Regions from separate parts of the Homo sapiens genome. Here all the other regions are linked to region 3. The links are contacts of gene promoters, found by promoter capture Hi-C in human tissues and cell types (Jung and others, 2019). All regions are on one chromosome and are shown on one strand. Each heading gives the region's core, a stretch centred on a gene start or on the middle of the fragment in contact. The rest is flanking DNA. Distances are from core to core; before and after follow the strand shown. Region 1 overlaps EDIL3 (EGF like repeats and discoidin domains 3). Region 2 overlaps EDIL3 (EGF like repeats and discoidin domains 3). Region 3 holds the start of HAPLN1 (hyaluronan and proteoglycan link protein 1).

What was found. The method cuts DNA at HindIII sites, captures the fragments that hold promoters and counts their contacts. A contact is called where the count stands out against the background at its distance.
Region 1: a contact is called between a fragment that was not itself captured here and the fragment with the promoter of HAPLN1 in region 3, in 1 of the 25 tissues and cell types used here (aorta).
Region 2: a fragment that was not itself captured here is called in contact with the fragment with the promoter of HAPLN1 in region 3 in 1 of the 25 tissues and cell types used here (IMR-90 fibroblasts).

The regions. Positions count from the first base shown.
Region 1 is chr5:84,279,839-84,284,076 of GRCh38, forward strand. The region is part of intron 1 of EDIL3 (EGF like repeats and discoidin domains 3); the gene reads right to left. Among named protein-coding and RNA genes, the nearest start is that of EDIL3-DT, 100 kb to the right of the region's middle. The HindIII fragment of the contact is 4,880 bases long and covers 1-4,238 here.
Region 2 is chr5:84,235,233-84,239,587 of GRCh38, forward strand. The region is part of intron 2 of EDIL3 (EGF like repeats and discoidin domains 3); the gene reads right to left. Among named protein-coding and RNA genes, the nearest start is that of EDIL3-DT, 150 kb to the right of the region's middle. The HindIII fragment of the contact is 4,508 bases long and covers 1-3,510 here.
Region 3 is chr5:83,718,338-83,722,221 of GRCh38, forward strand. HAPLN1 (hyaluronan and proteoglycan link protein 1) reads right to left here and starts at 2,518. Exons shown (of 5, transcript NM_001884.4): 1 at 2,452-2,518. The HindIII fragment of the contact is 27,926 bases long and covers 1-3,884 here.

The DNA.
Region 1 (4,238 bases), core at 972-3,471, 560 kb after region 3:
AGACACCCAGGAATTCTGTACTAAAATAAGCATTCCTTTATTGCCAATGGACTGATACACCCAGTACTTAATCCCTGGGGTCTCTTTGCCGCTATTTAATGTACCACTGCTCATGAATTGATGCTGTCCAGTTTTCACAGAAGACTGAAAACTGAACATTTCCTTTGCTTTATGGTGCTTGACACTTTGGCCACATTTGCTTTTCACTCTTCTCACATGACTTGTATCACCAAAGGGCAATGGCTGAGTAAGAGAGGCAAAATGTAATGTTTCTACATCTTTGCTTTCTATAAAATGCCTAGCAAAGAATTGTTTCCTTGTGATGCCCCAGGAATCATATCCCTCATTGCCCTTCCCTTCTCTTTAACTTTACTGAGTAGAAATGAGTGTCATTTAGAATAGGGGTGCCCATCCCCCAGGCCATGACTGGTACTGCCTTCAGTTTCATCTCCTTGAAATTGATATAATTTAATCAGATCATGATCTCTAGAAGCATTCATTCAATGGTGACTATTTTACTAGTATATTCTAATGATCCAGCATGTCTACAGTGTTTTCTGTACAATTACTCTACCTGTATGTATGTTTTTCTTATCAGACAGTATTCTTATGGCTATTAAGTATGATGTTGCCTTTACTTCTTTCTTGTGAGCCACTATCTGTGAATATATTTTTTAAAATCACGTTTTCATCCCACGACTGTCGGCACTGCACTGTGGTTAAGAATGTGAGCCCTGGAATTCTGTCTTTGTCATAGACTAGTTTTGTAAGTTTGGAAAAATCACTGAAGATCTATAATTTGGTGATCACTTCTGTAAAGGAGAAAAACCTAGGCCAGGGGTGGTGGTTCACGCTTGAAATCTCAACACTTTGGAAAGCTGACACAGTAGGATGGCTTGAGCCCAGGAGTTCTGGGCAACATGGTGAGACTCTATCTCTACAAAAAATTTAAAAAAATAGCTAGGCGTGGTGGTGCATGCCCATAGTCCCATCTACACAGGAGGATGAGGGCTTAGGTAGGAGGATTGCTTGAGCCCATGAGTTTGAAGCTACAGTGAATGAAGATCACCCCCTGCACTCCAGCCTGGGCAACAAAGCAAGACTCTGTCAAAAAAAAAAAAAAAAAAAAAAAGGAAATAAAAACCTTGGCATCTAATTCACAGGATCATTGTGAAAATTAAATAAGTTAATGTTTGCAAAGCCCTGAGAACAGTGGTTGGCACATATTAAATGTTCAATAAATGACCATTATTATTATCAACTACAAGTATTCCATGACCTATTTAAGGAATCTTATAAGTTTTCTGAAGTCTAATGCATTCTCTTTTTCTTACCAGTTTGTTCTCATTCAATTCTATTTCTTACCTTTACTGTGATCAACAGAATTCAAAACATGACTTTCATAATTTCTGATATTTTATTCATAGGCTACTGTCTAAATCAGTTTAAAGTAGAATAATAATTTGACTACAAATGGAGAAATGTGGGTTCTATCATGTCTGACATCACTTCAAGCCCAAACACATTATTCATTTACCTTTTGAATGCCTTTTGCAACCCACATTCCCTTTCAGTAATGGGCACTCCACTATAGTGCATTTTAGATCTTGTTTAAATCTGACTCATGTTTCCATCTTATCCTAATGCCATAATCCACATGAAACACTCAGCAAAGTATCTAATCAGTGCTTAAAAATGTTAGCTGTTAATATGGTTTGTGGGTGACATCTGTGATCACAGTGTGGAAATGGCAAGTACACATTTTTTCTTTTTCTGCATGGGCAGTTGTGTGTATACTCTTGACTCCAGCTTGTTCTCTTCTGATTATGACAACCAGATGCTCTCTAATCTAATCCTGGCTCTGCTAATAATAAACTATAACCCCAGGCAGTCCAAATACTTATTTTAAATTATGAGATATTTGAAGAGTGAAAAGAAGTATGAAGAATAGTATAATGAACACCTATGTATCTACCACCTAACTGCCAGATTTCAGCATATTCAACTTTTATTTCACTTTTTTTTTTTTTTTTTTTTTTTTTGAGGTGGAGTCTCACTCTGTCACCTGGACTGGAATAAATGCAGTGGTGCGATCTCGGCTCGCTGCAACCTCTGCCTCCCGGATTCAAGTGATTCTGCTGCCTCAGCCTCTGAAGTAGCTGGGATTACAGGTGCCGGCCACTACACCCAGCTAATTTTTTTTTTTTCATTTTTAGTAGAGATGGGGTTTCACCATGTTGGCCAGGCTGGTCTCGAACTCCTGAGCTCGTGATTTGTCCACCTCAGCCTCCCAAAGTGCTGGGATTACAGGCGTGAGCCACCGTGCCCGGCCTCATATTTTTTAAAGAAACAAAACATTAAAGATACAGTTGTAAGTCTCTGTGTGCCCCTCTTTTATTACATTCTTTTCTCTTGCACCCTCTTCAGAAGCCACTAATACAATTTTTATATTTATAATATGAATGCATGATTTGTACTTTTAAAACAATCTAGAGGTCTACTTTACTCTCTAAATTTTACATATGTTATCAACTTTCCTTCTATATGTTGCTTTGTTTCCTGAAACAGTGTTTTTGAAATTTATCCGTTTTACCCAGAAAACTTCAATTCATACACTTTAGTTGCTTTATAGCATTTTATTGTATAAATCTACCATAATTTATTTCTTCATTCTCCTGTTTACAGATATTTGGGATTGAAGTTTTTCCTGTTTTTTGCAATTACATTTTAATATATTTTTCCTTGTACCCTGTGCAAAAATTTATTTTGGATATGTACCTACAGATAAAGTAGCTGCATGAAATGATGTGTATTTACTAAACTATTCTCAAATTGTTTTTCAAGCAGTGGTATCTACTTATATTCCCACCACCAGTGGGTTAAAGTCTCTACTGCTTATATCCCAGCTTTTTATTATCTGTGAATCAATGAGTATAGTATCATATCAATGCATTGTTTTAGCTTGCATTTCTCTGATTTCTGTTCAGCTTTCTTTTTTTTACTTTGAGGAAGGTGAAATATGTAGTTAAGTATATAATATTAATATTCAGTAACTGTTATTTCTTTTTCAGTCTGTTTCACACACTTTTTGAAAAACTAGTACAGAGAGATCACATTTTATCATTCGATTTGTTCTTGAAATTACCTGATCAAATGTTACGTAGGAAATATAAAAGGGTATAAATAAAATGCATCTATTTCTTTTTTTTTTTAACCAACGTTACTGTGAAAGAAGGTAAGCTGGTAAAGTTTATATTGGGCTGATGTGTTCAGTATTCATATATAGGAGCAGATATAGAGCATAAGAAACATATAAAAGAGCTGACTATAAATGTCCACTAAGCAAGGCTACGGTTTATTCCCAATTGTGCCATCCCATATTGGTATTTAATAGATGGCTGTTGATGATACAATAATCATAACATCATGGTGATAATCATTATAATAATTATAAGATCAGTTAACTATTCATGTTTAGTTAGGTTCAGAAACTGCTGTGATTATGGTTGACTGCTGTCTTTTTAAAAGCACAATTTTCTTCACCCTAACTTCAATTTTTTCCATAAGAACAAAACTAGGATAACTCTGGATTTGCTGAGGTATCTTTAAAGTCTTCTATTTTTGAAGCAAAGTGTGACTCTAGGTTTTCCTTCAGAGGCCATTTTAAATGAAACCAGTCTACAGCTTAAAAACCTTCAGTGGTGCAACACTGAGTTTGCAACAATCATCTCAATTATTTAGAACAGCACACAAATCCCTGTCCACATTTCTAACCATATTGAACACGACTACTTATAATTCACAAATCTTCCTCAATCTCTCATTATCACTGGGCACCACAGTGCATTATCCCTTCTGGAAAAAAGTAATGTTTTACATATATTCCTTGTGTCCTAGCATATATTCCTAGTTTTCTTTCTACTCCTCTGTAAGCTTTTTTGTTTGTTTTGTTTGCCCACCAGGTATCTTAAGTCATATGTCTCTATGAGATCACAAGTTTACTATGTTCAAAATTGAACATAAGCTCCCTCAAACCACCCCGCAAAACTTTTCAGTGAAAAGCACACCACTCATCCAGCTGTACAGGACCAGGTAGAGGAGCCCCTTCCTCTCATTCCCAGAGTTCAATCTATCACCAAATCCTTTTCATATTCTACCTCCTAAAACATCCTGGTACCTATTCACTTCCTTCCACCTCCATTCTCAACACCATCATCGCACCTCACATCTTTACTTCA
Region 2 (4,355 bases), core at 7-2,506, 520 kb after region 3:
TAACAAAGATGATTAGTTTCCTCTGGCCAAATATTTCAGACAGCATATGATGTGGTCAACTCCACAATCTCAGAACTGCAGAGTATTTGGGTCACTGTGAGGCACAGCATTGGATTTGCATAGAAAATGCTTGAATAATCAAAATGTTTCCATTCTATCAACATTTTACATGCATTGTGATTCCTGTGCAAAATTTGGAGAATGGCATCCATTGAAGTATTGATAATATATAACACATAAAACATAATTTTGTACACATGTAGTTAGCATGTAAACATATATTGAATTTTTATTAGTCTCTCCCATTAGACTAAGAGTTTCATGAGGACAGGGCTGTAGCATTTTTTTGCTCACCATTACATCCGTAGTTTTCAAAACAGTGTCTGGAACACTGGAGGAACTGAATAAATATTTGTTGAAAGAAAAGATACACAAATGTTTAATACAGTCATTTGTATTAAATAAAGCTCAGCTGCTTCATTTTGTAATATTATTAAATTAATCAAAGAAAGCCTTACATCTCTGTATATGTTTCATCATATAAATATATACATAATTATATATAGTTTCTATAGCTATATGTCATTATATAAATCAGATTTTCCTTCTTGGGGTAGGAAGGAAACAATATAATTATTATAAAGACAATGGTTGCTCTAAAGACCATTAGATTATCTCATGAAAAATTAAATCTGTGATTTTTAAACTAACTCAGAAAACATGAAACTATGATTTATTAATTAAGTAGATTCATTTAAACAGAACCACAAAATGTACTTTTAATGTTTAGTGGTGATATAGTTTACATGGGTTTTACAATGTATTTATACAGTGAATCATTTTAACAGCAATTACCAGTGCATTTGTGATTCTCTCATTTTAGAAAGAGGTATAAATGAGAAAAATAACAAAAAAGAATGCAAGCTTTGGGTTCAATTTTTGCCACTGAGTAAGAAAACTAAAACTAAACTGAACAAAAACACGTATTTTATAAAAGTAAGCCAGAGTACTGGGAAGCTGGAAAGTAATATGACTCAAATAGCCTACATTCATATCCCAGCTGTTATTAGTCTTTGAGAACATAATTAGGACAAATTCTCTTACTTAAAGGAAGTAGTAAATATCTTTAAGTTAGGTGATTTGATATAATAAGGGGACTTACAATTCAATATTTTGGTGTATCTATTCAATTGTCCTTAAATATCCTTTGTTTATTAAATGTGCCCTTCCTCCCTATCCAAACCCAAACCATCCTTGTCGACTGAATTCAAGTTTCACCACCTTCAACTCCTTAGTATTTATTTCAGTCTCCAGATATTCCCTTCTAACCCCACTACCTTTTAAACTATAACCGAAAGCCAGTTCTAAACAGAATGGTACATAATATTTTCCAGCTTTGTTTCCCAAGCTGGACATTATTCTTCCTTGGAGGGCAAATGTTTTAATTTTGCACAGTGTATATAATTGGTTCTGAGTAAATATTTTTGGAAAGTTGTCCAATTTTAAATTGAGAAAATGAAGTCCAAAAGTAAATTTAATGACTGTTTTTACCCTTTTTTTTTTTAGCTTTGTAAAATGAGGATTGAAAATTAAACCTAAGAAAATTCATGGGCAAATAAAACGAAGAAACTTGTAAGGGATAAAGCAGATCAAAAGTTAATATAAATGATTTCTCAGATTTATCCATTTTCAATAAAATTAATAAATTCATAATCTTTTTGAAAATTTAATACAGGAAAGAGAGAATCATTAATTCTACAATGAGAATGCTGTTTAATGTCACTAGAGAAGCCATGAAGCCGAGGCTACCAGCTCACTAGATATGAATTTCAGATGGTCACAGCATCCATGTTATTTTGTTTCATAGCACCTGACAGCAGGAAGCTGATACTCTCAGGCTCCTTTATGTTCTATGGATTTCTGCTTTATTTATGTGTGGGAGACTACTCACTTCAACCTCAATTCATTTCCCTAAGTCTGGACAAATGAGCTAATCTAAAAAGCAAATCTGCTAAAACCAAAAGAACAGAAAACTAAAAAGTAATGAATTGATCAGCAATACTGGCACAAATCTCAGTGACAGTATCCACTTAAGAAAACCACAGAATCATTGCACATAAAATGTTAATGCTGGACAAGACTTAATGATTAAGAGTGTTGTCAAAAAAAAATCCATTGGTACAATGGGTTAAGGTTTGCATTAGAAAATAGAAGTATATTTATTAAATCACCTAAATTACTAACTAAAATTCACCACAAGCAGAATTTTGAAGTAAATGGATATGGCATAATTTGTTTCACTAAGTCTTTAGTGAATAATACTTGGATGAATTCCAGGACTTCTGTCTTATAAATGAGGTTTCAATGAATAATCAGATTTCATTTGAATCATGGTAGAAACAAAGAAAATAAATTATCTAATACTTTTATTAAATAAAGTCCATAATCCTAAACACAATGTAAAATATTTGCTTTTTGTAAGAAAGATTTTTAAAAGATCCTCTTTGATGCCATCCTTTTTGATGCCATCAGCCTATTTTTTAAAAAAAGGACTATGCTTCTTAAATATATTGGATGATATTATATTTCTGCCATTTTCCTGTGAATGTTACTCTCTTGCTTTAATAAAGTTACCATTAACAGAGATATAGTAAAACTTCCAATGTCTGATGTCCAATAGCACAAAACACAGAGACAAACAAATGACTGATCCATGTGCCTGGCAGATGCAGCCTTAGACCAATTACTGGTTTCCCTGCCCATCATCCCACCCCAGTAGAGATGCTTAGGGCTGAATACTGAATATTCTGTGTCTTCTGAGATATAAATAATATAAAACTTCAATGCTTTTAAAAAATAAATGGTGATGAATTTAAAGATAGAAAATTACTTCATGGTAGAATCTTGGCAAACGGTGTGTGTGTGTGTGTATGTGTGTGTGTGTCACAACCAAGTATTTCATATGGTTACAGTTATTTCAAACATGACTTTTTACCATTTTAATATCTGTGAGGTCTTTTAGTAAAATATCATTGCCTTTTCATTGCTTATATTCCAAAATAATTCAGAAATTTTACAATGGCTTTGAAATGATGTGTTCCCAAAATATAGATCGACACATTTGGCTTAATTAAAATATATTTTGAAATTCAAAAGATGAAGGGGGAAGAAAAAAAAACAGTGGGCAGGTCTAACTTGAAGAAAGATGAGATATTTCCGTGAAATCTGTACGTGTCATTTTGGTCAGGGGGAGTTATCTTTTTCATGTAGTTTTAACTCATCTCAAGGACACTAACCATAAGAAATAAAGCACAATTTCTGCTTGATTACGTAGAGCTAATCTAATGTGCTACTGCCTTTATGTAACAGTGAGTTAATGACTGCTTTAGAGGATTTTTTTTCTTCCTGTTACAACAGGAGCTAAAATTAAATGTTTTTTTTTTTTTTTTTTCAGAATCATTAGGACCTTCTTGAAAGGAAAATAGTGTATCCACATTTGGGTGTTAATCATATAACATTGACAATGTAATTTTCTTATCTGCAAAACTTGTCTCCCTAGGCTAAATTTCTCCTTAATTGGGATGTCTTTAAAGAACTCAACTGATAAAAAAGTAGACAGGCCTAACTTTAAGGCAATGAAAATTGAATAAAGGTGCAGGACTATTCAGGGTGGGCCCACACCACATTTTTCTAATCTTTTAGAATATTTTCAAGTCTTGAATGCAAACTATTAATTTCTACCCTTCTAACAGATCCAATCTGCGGACCAAAAAATCTATATATCTTTCAAAATTTCTAGAGGCAGGGAACTCAAAATCTCATCAAGGAACATGTCATATCTCTCTCCCAGAGCTCACCTCTAGAAAACAATGGACTAATGAGGCCCATTCTTTGACAGGCCAGTCATTCAAATATTTAAAAGCTATTGTAATTCTTTTCTTAACTGAGATAAATATCCCTACTTAATTTTACATATTATGGTATATACACCCTAGTCATCATTTTTGTTGACCTACTCTTGATAAACTCAAATTTGATAACGTATTTTAAAATATAGTAATGAGAATGGAAACAGTACTCCAGATGTGATCTAACTAGCACAAAATACAATGGTGTTATTACCTGTCTTGTTTAGGCGGCTTTATAACAACCAGCAATCCAACATTGTAAAGAATTAATTTCCTTTCCTTCCCTCCTTCAGCTACATCTTTTTTTTTTAATTATATTTTAAGTTCTGGGGTACATATGCACAATGTGCAGGTTTGTTACATATGTATACATGTGCCAGCACATGTATGTTTATTGCGGCACTATTCACAATAGCAAAAACTTGGAACCTTCAGCTACATCTTATG
Region 3 (3,884 bases), core at 1,268-3,767:
AGGGAGTCAGAGTATTTTAAGAAGCCGGTGAGAAAGCCTTCTTTGACTTATCCACTAGGTGGCACACAGGGACCATGCTTCACACAGTTAACCACCACAGACCCTCCCATTCAGTGTAAATAAAGAGATGCATTATTAATTTATACCACCTCGTCCTCTCTACTCCTAATAATTGTTTAACCAGCTGTTTCCTCTAATCCTCCTTAAACACTATTGATTAAAATCCTAAGTATATTCAGGTTTCCATCCTTTCCTACTTCTTCCAACAGCATTTTGCTACCTTTAAATGACAGGCTAAGTACACTTAAATGACATAGACTAAGTACTATGGTTACTACTCATGGCTGCAGGATGTCAGAAAATTAATTTGAAGCACTATCAAAATTATTTTCAAATTTGCCTGGTATTTCGTCAGAATTTTAACTGGTGAGAGATCATGATCTTAAAAATGCAATCTGAAAAATAAAATGTGCATGGGGCAAAAAGAAATGAAAAAGAAAACTAGTATTTTCTAAGGAAGGGAGTCATTTTCTGAATATAACTTTTGTTCATCTTTACAAAGATGAAGTGCATTGCTATCTTAAGATTCAAAGGACTTCTTCAACTGTTCAGAAAATACCAATATTCCACACCTAAGATGCTAAAAGGCAGGATTGTTTAGTAGACCGTTTACTCATAAAGTATCTTTCTGTGTACTCTGAATGTATTTATCCTGGATGTGTTACTTGCTCCCAAAGGAAGGAAAAGGAAGTGAAACCACTAGGGATATAATGAATTGATTCTTCTCTGTGAAAGTCTCTTCAGTACTTCTAAATTACAGTGTCAGTCATTCCTCTGAGAGACAGGGCCTTGCTGAAAATAAATGGCTCATTTTATAAATAAGTACATAATGTTTCCCCACCTTCTTGTTTCTCATAGAAAGCCCAGGCCCATAAGGCATTCCTGTCGAGAATACTGGCCTCTGGGTACATTCCTCCTGTAGAGCAGTGGTCTGTTGAGGTTGTTGGTTATCTCTTGTTCATTTAATTAGCCTTAAGTAAAATTACTTCTTATCTAGTTCTGTTTTTAAGCTGTTTCCAATTTAGTGGAAGAGGTCATCAACAAAAGTATAAATTCATTTCTTAGCTGAAACAATTAAATTTTTTAAAATGGGTGGTATAAAAGTGACTAAAGACTAAAGCTAATATCTGAAGAGTCCTTTGGTATACATTATATTTTACTGAATGGAAGAGAAACTTTCATTTTTGTAGGTAAATGGAATTTGTTAACTGATATAAGAATTATGAATCATATCACATTAAAAATTCTCCAAAGATAACTACTATGATATACTTTTGATAGAACAATATTCCCATTCCATTAAAATACTGAAATGACTGAAATGTGTATAAAATCTCTGCAAATTTAGTACACAGAAATAATCACATAGAAATAGTTACCAGAAACTACAATTGTAATGAATAAATATTACATTCATTTAGAAATCAATCCACAGCCTTAATTTCTTAAGAACTATTAGCTTCCAAGAAGCCAGCCAGTATGTTTGATTTTATGACATCACACTGGAACATGTACAGGAACACTTTCCACCCTAAAAATTCCCAAATGTACTGGCCACTGTGTGTATTTTTCCAGTGATAAATGAAAATAAAGCAACTTATTCTCAAATTAATAAGCCATCTTATTTTGAACACAACAGTCACATTCAATGGAAGAAAACTACTTAATCGAAGCCCAAACAAGTTTAGGTTTGTTTTTGGTGGGGAACAGTCTCAACATACAAATAATTTCTTTAAGCAACTTTTAACAGTAATCTTAACTATGACTATAAATTCTCTTCAGTGCATTCAAATTATCCATCAACATCATTGTATATATGAAATGCATCATCATTCTATGATCTTAAGTTCATAATTAGCTGGAGAAGGAAGCCTGGGCCAAAAATGGCAACATTTCTAAGATTATTAATCTAACAGGTATTACCTATGCCTAAAGTAACTTTCTTTTTCACATAACCCTATATATTCTCTGAAACAAAATTCATAAGCCTGGCTGGACATTCCCATTCCTCACCTTTCCCTTCAGCCTATACTATCCTTGTTTCATCTCAGGTGCTATAAAAATGGTTGTTGAGATACAGATAGAAAAGTCACCACTTGGAAACCATGACCCTACCAGATTTACAGGAGCACTAGCAGAAGCTAAGATACTAGAGTTAATTCTTTCTCCATTTTTAGACTGAGCCTGTTTATTGTAGTGAAATATTTTATCCGACAATATGAAACTTTTTTAAAAGTTGAGGTGTCATATTAAATTCAAATGAAAACTAAACTCAAAAGAAAAGAATAAAATTTGTTTAATGTATATATACATTGCATGTGTATTGCCCTCTGAAATCTTAAAGGCACAAAGGTATAACCAAAAGAGGGGGAAACAATTTGCAAGTTTTACCTTGTCCTGAAATCCAGGAGTTCGGATGCTCTCAAGTTCTGCTTAAGTTGGAAGCTGGAGATCAAGTGAAGCTAGCGCTCTTTCTCCTCACCTTAAGTTTGTCTCTGGGCGAGTGTGAGAGTGTGTGTGTGTGTGCGTGTGTGAGTGTGTGTGCAGAATGTCTCTTTGTGGCGCTGGATGGCAGAGGTCCTGATCCTGGGAAGAAGGAGGCACTTTCTCACCAAGAGCAGAAGAAAAGCAAAGCGTCACCAGGAAAGTTCTCCTCCCAAATCCCCTAATTACAGCCTAATGTGCACTTCATGCAAACTTCAGGGAGGAAGGGAGGGGCAGCTCTGTGCCCAGACCTTGTAAAGCAGCAGCCTCTTAGATGACTTTCCCCTCTGCTCAGATCCCGAGTATCCCGCTCTGGGGTTTAGGAAAGCCGGCCGCTACAGCCACACAAGCCCCCACCACACCACACCTCCCGAACCCGAACCCTCATCAGTCCTGGGTCTGTCCAGAAGGGATGGGACAAGGGGTCTGTGGAATGATCTGCGGGGCAGCGGTGTGAGCAGACTCCTCAGGACAGTCAGTTTGCGCTTTGTTTTATTAGCCTCTGCTTAAAAGAAAAATCCAAGGGTCGGAGAGGTCCTCTCTTTCCCGCCTTCCCCTCACCAAAGGAGATCAAGGATAACAGACAATGATGATAGTGGCACATAAAGCTTCTTAAACTGGAGATGGCCTTCCACCCAAATCACCAGAAGCATATTTTCTGGTTTACTGGACTCAGTATTGGTGTTGAGTTTAAATTTCTCTTAACAAACAACTGCTATTGTATCCTTGGATGACAGAGCTCAAAGAACCTGGATTTATTTATAGAACGAGGAATGCGAGGGGGAGACGGGATGGGTGGGGTTGGGTTGTGGATCCATAACCAGGATTAGAACCAGATGGGCACAGGGCGCGCGCGCGCACACACACACACACACACACACACACACACACACACAGACACACACACCCCTGAAATAACCAGTGGGGAAGATGCTGGGACACGCGGGAAAACGCCTCCTGAACAAATAGACGTTTATTTATAACTTCTGGGAGAGTATATAGGTCCATTGATTCCCGCCTTGAGTAACCAAGGGTTTTGGAGAGGAAATGGCTTCATATTTCAATAACAGAGCCACCTTTGATGGAGTCTAGGAAGGGGAAAAAAGAAACACACCGCAGGAAGCAAACGGCTGTTGGAGCAGCCGGGAGGAGGGAGCGGGGCTGGCCCTGGGACTGAGGACAAGCAAACAAGCTCGAGGGGCCCGCGGCCAGGGTGGAGGCGAGACGCAGGCCGTCCCCGAGTTGCAGCGAGCAGGGCCCGGTGTCGCGGAGCGCTGGGGACGTGCGGGGATTCGCGGCCGTGCTCCCGGCTCCAACCTCCGGCCCCGGCGGGGCGGCGC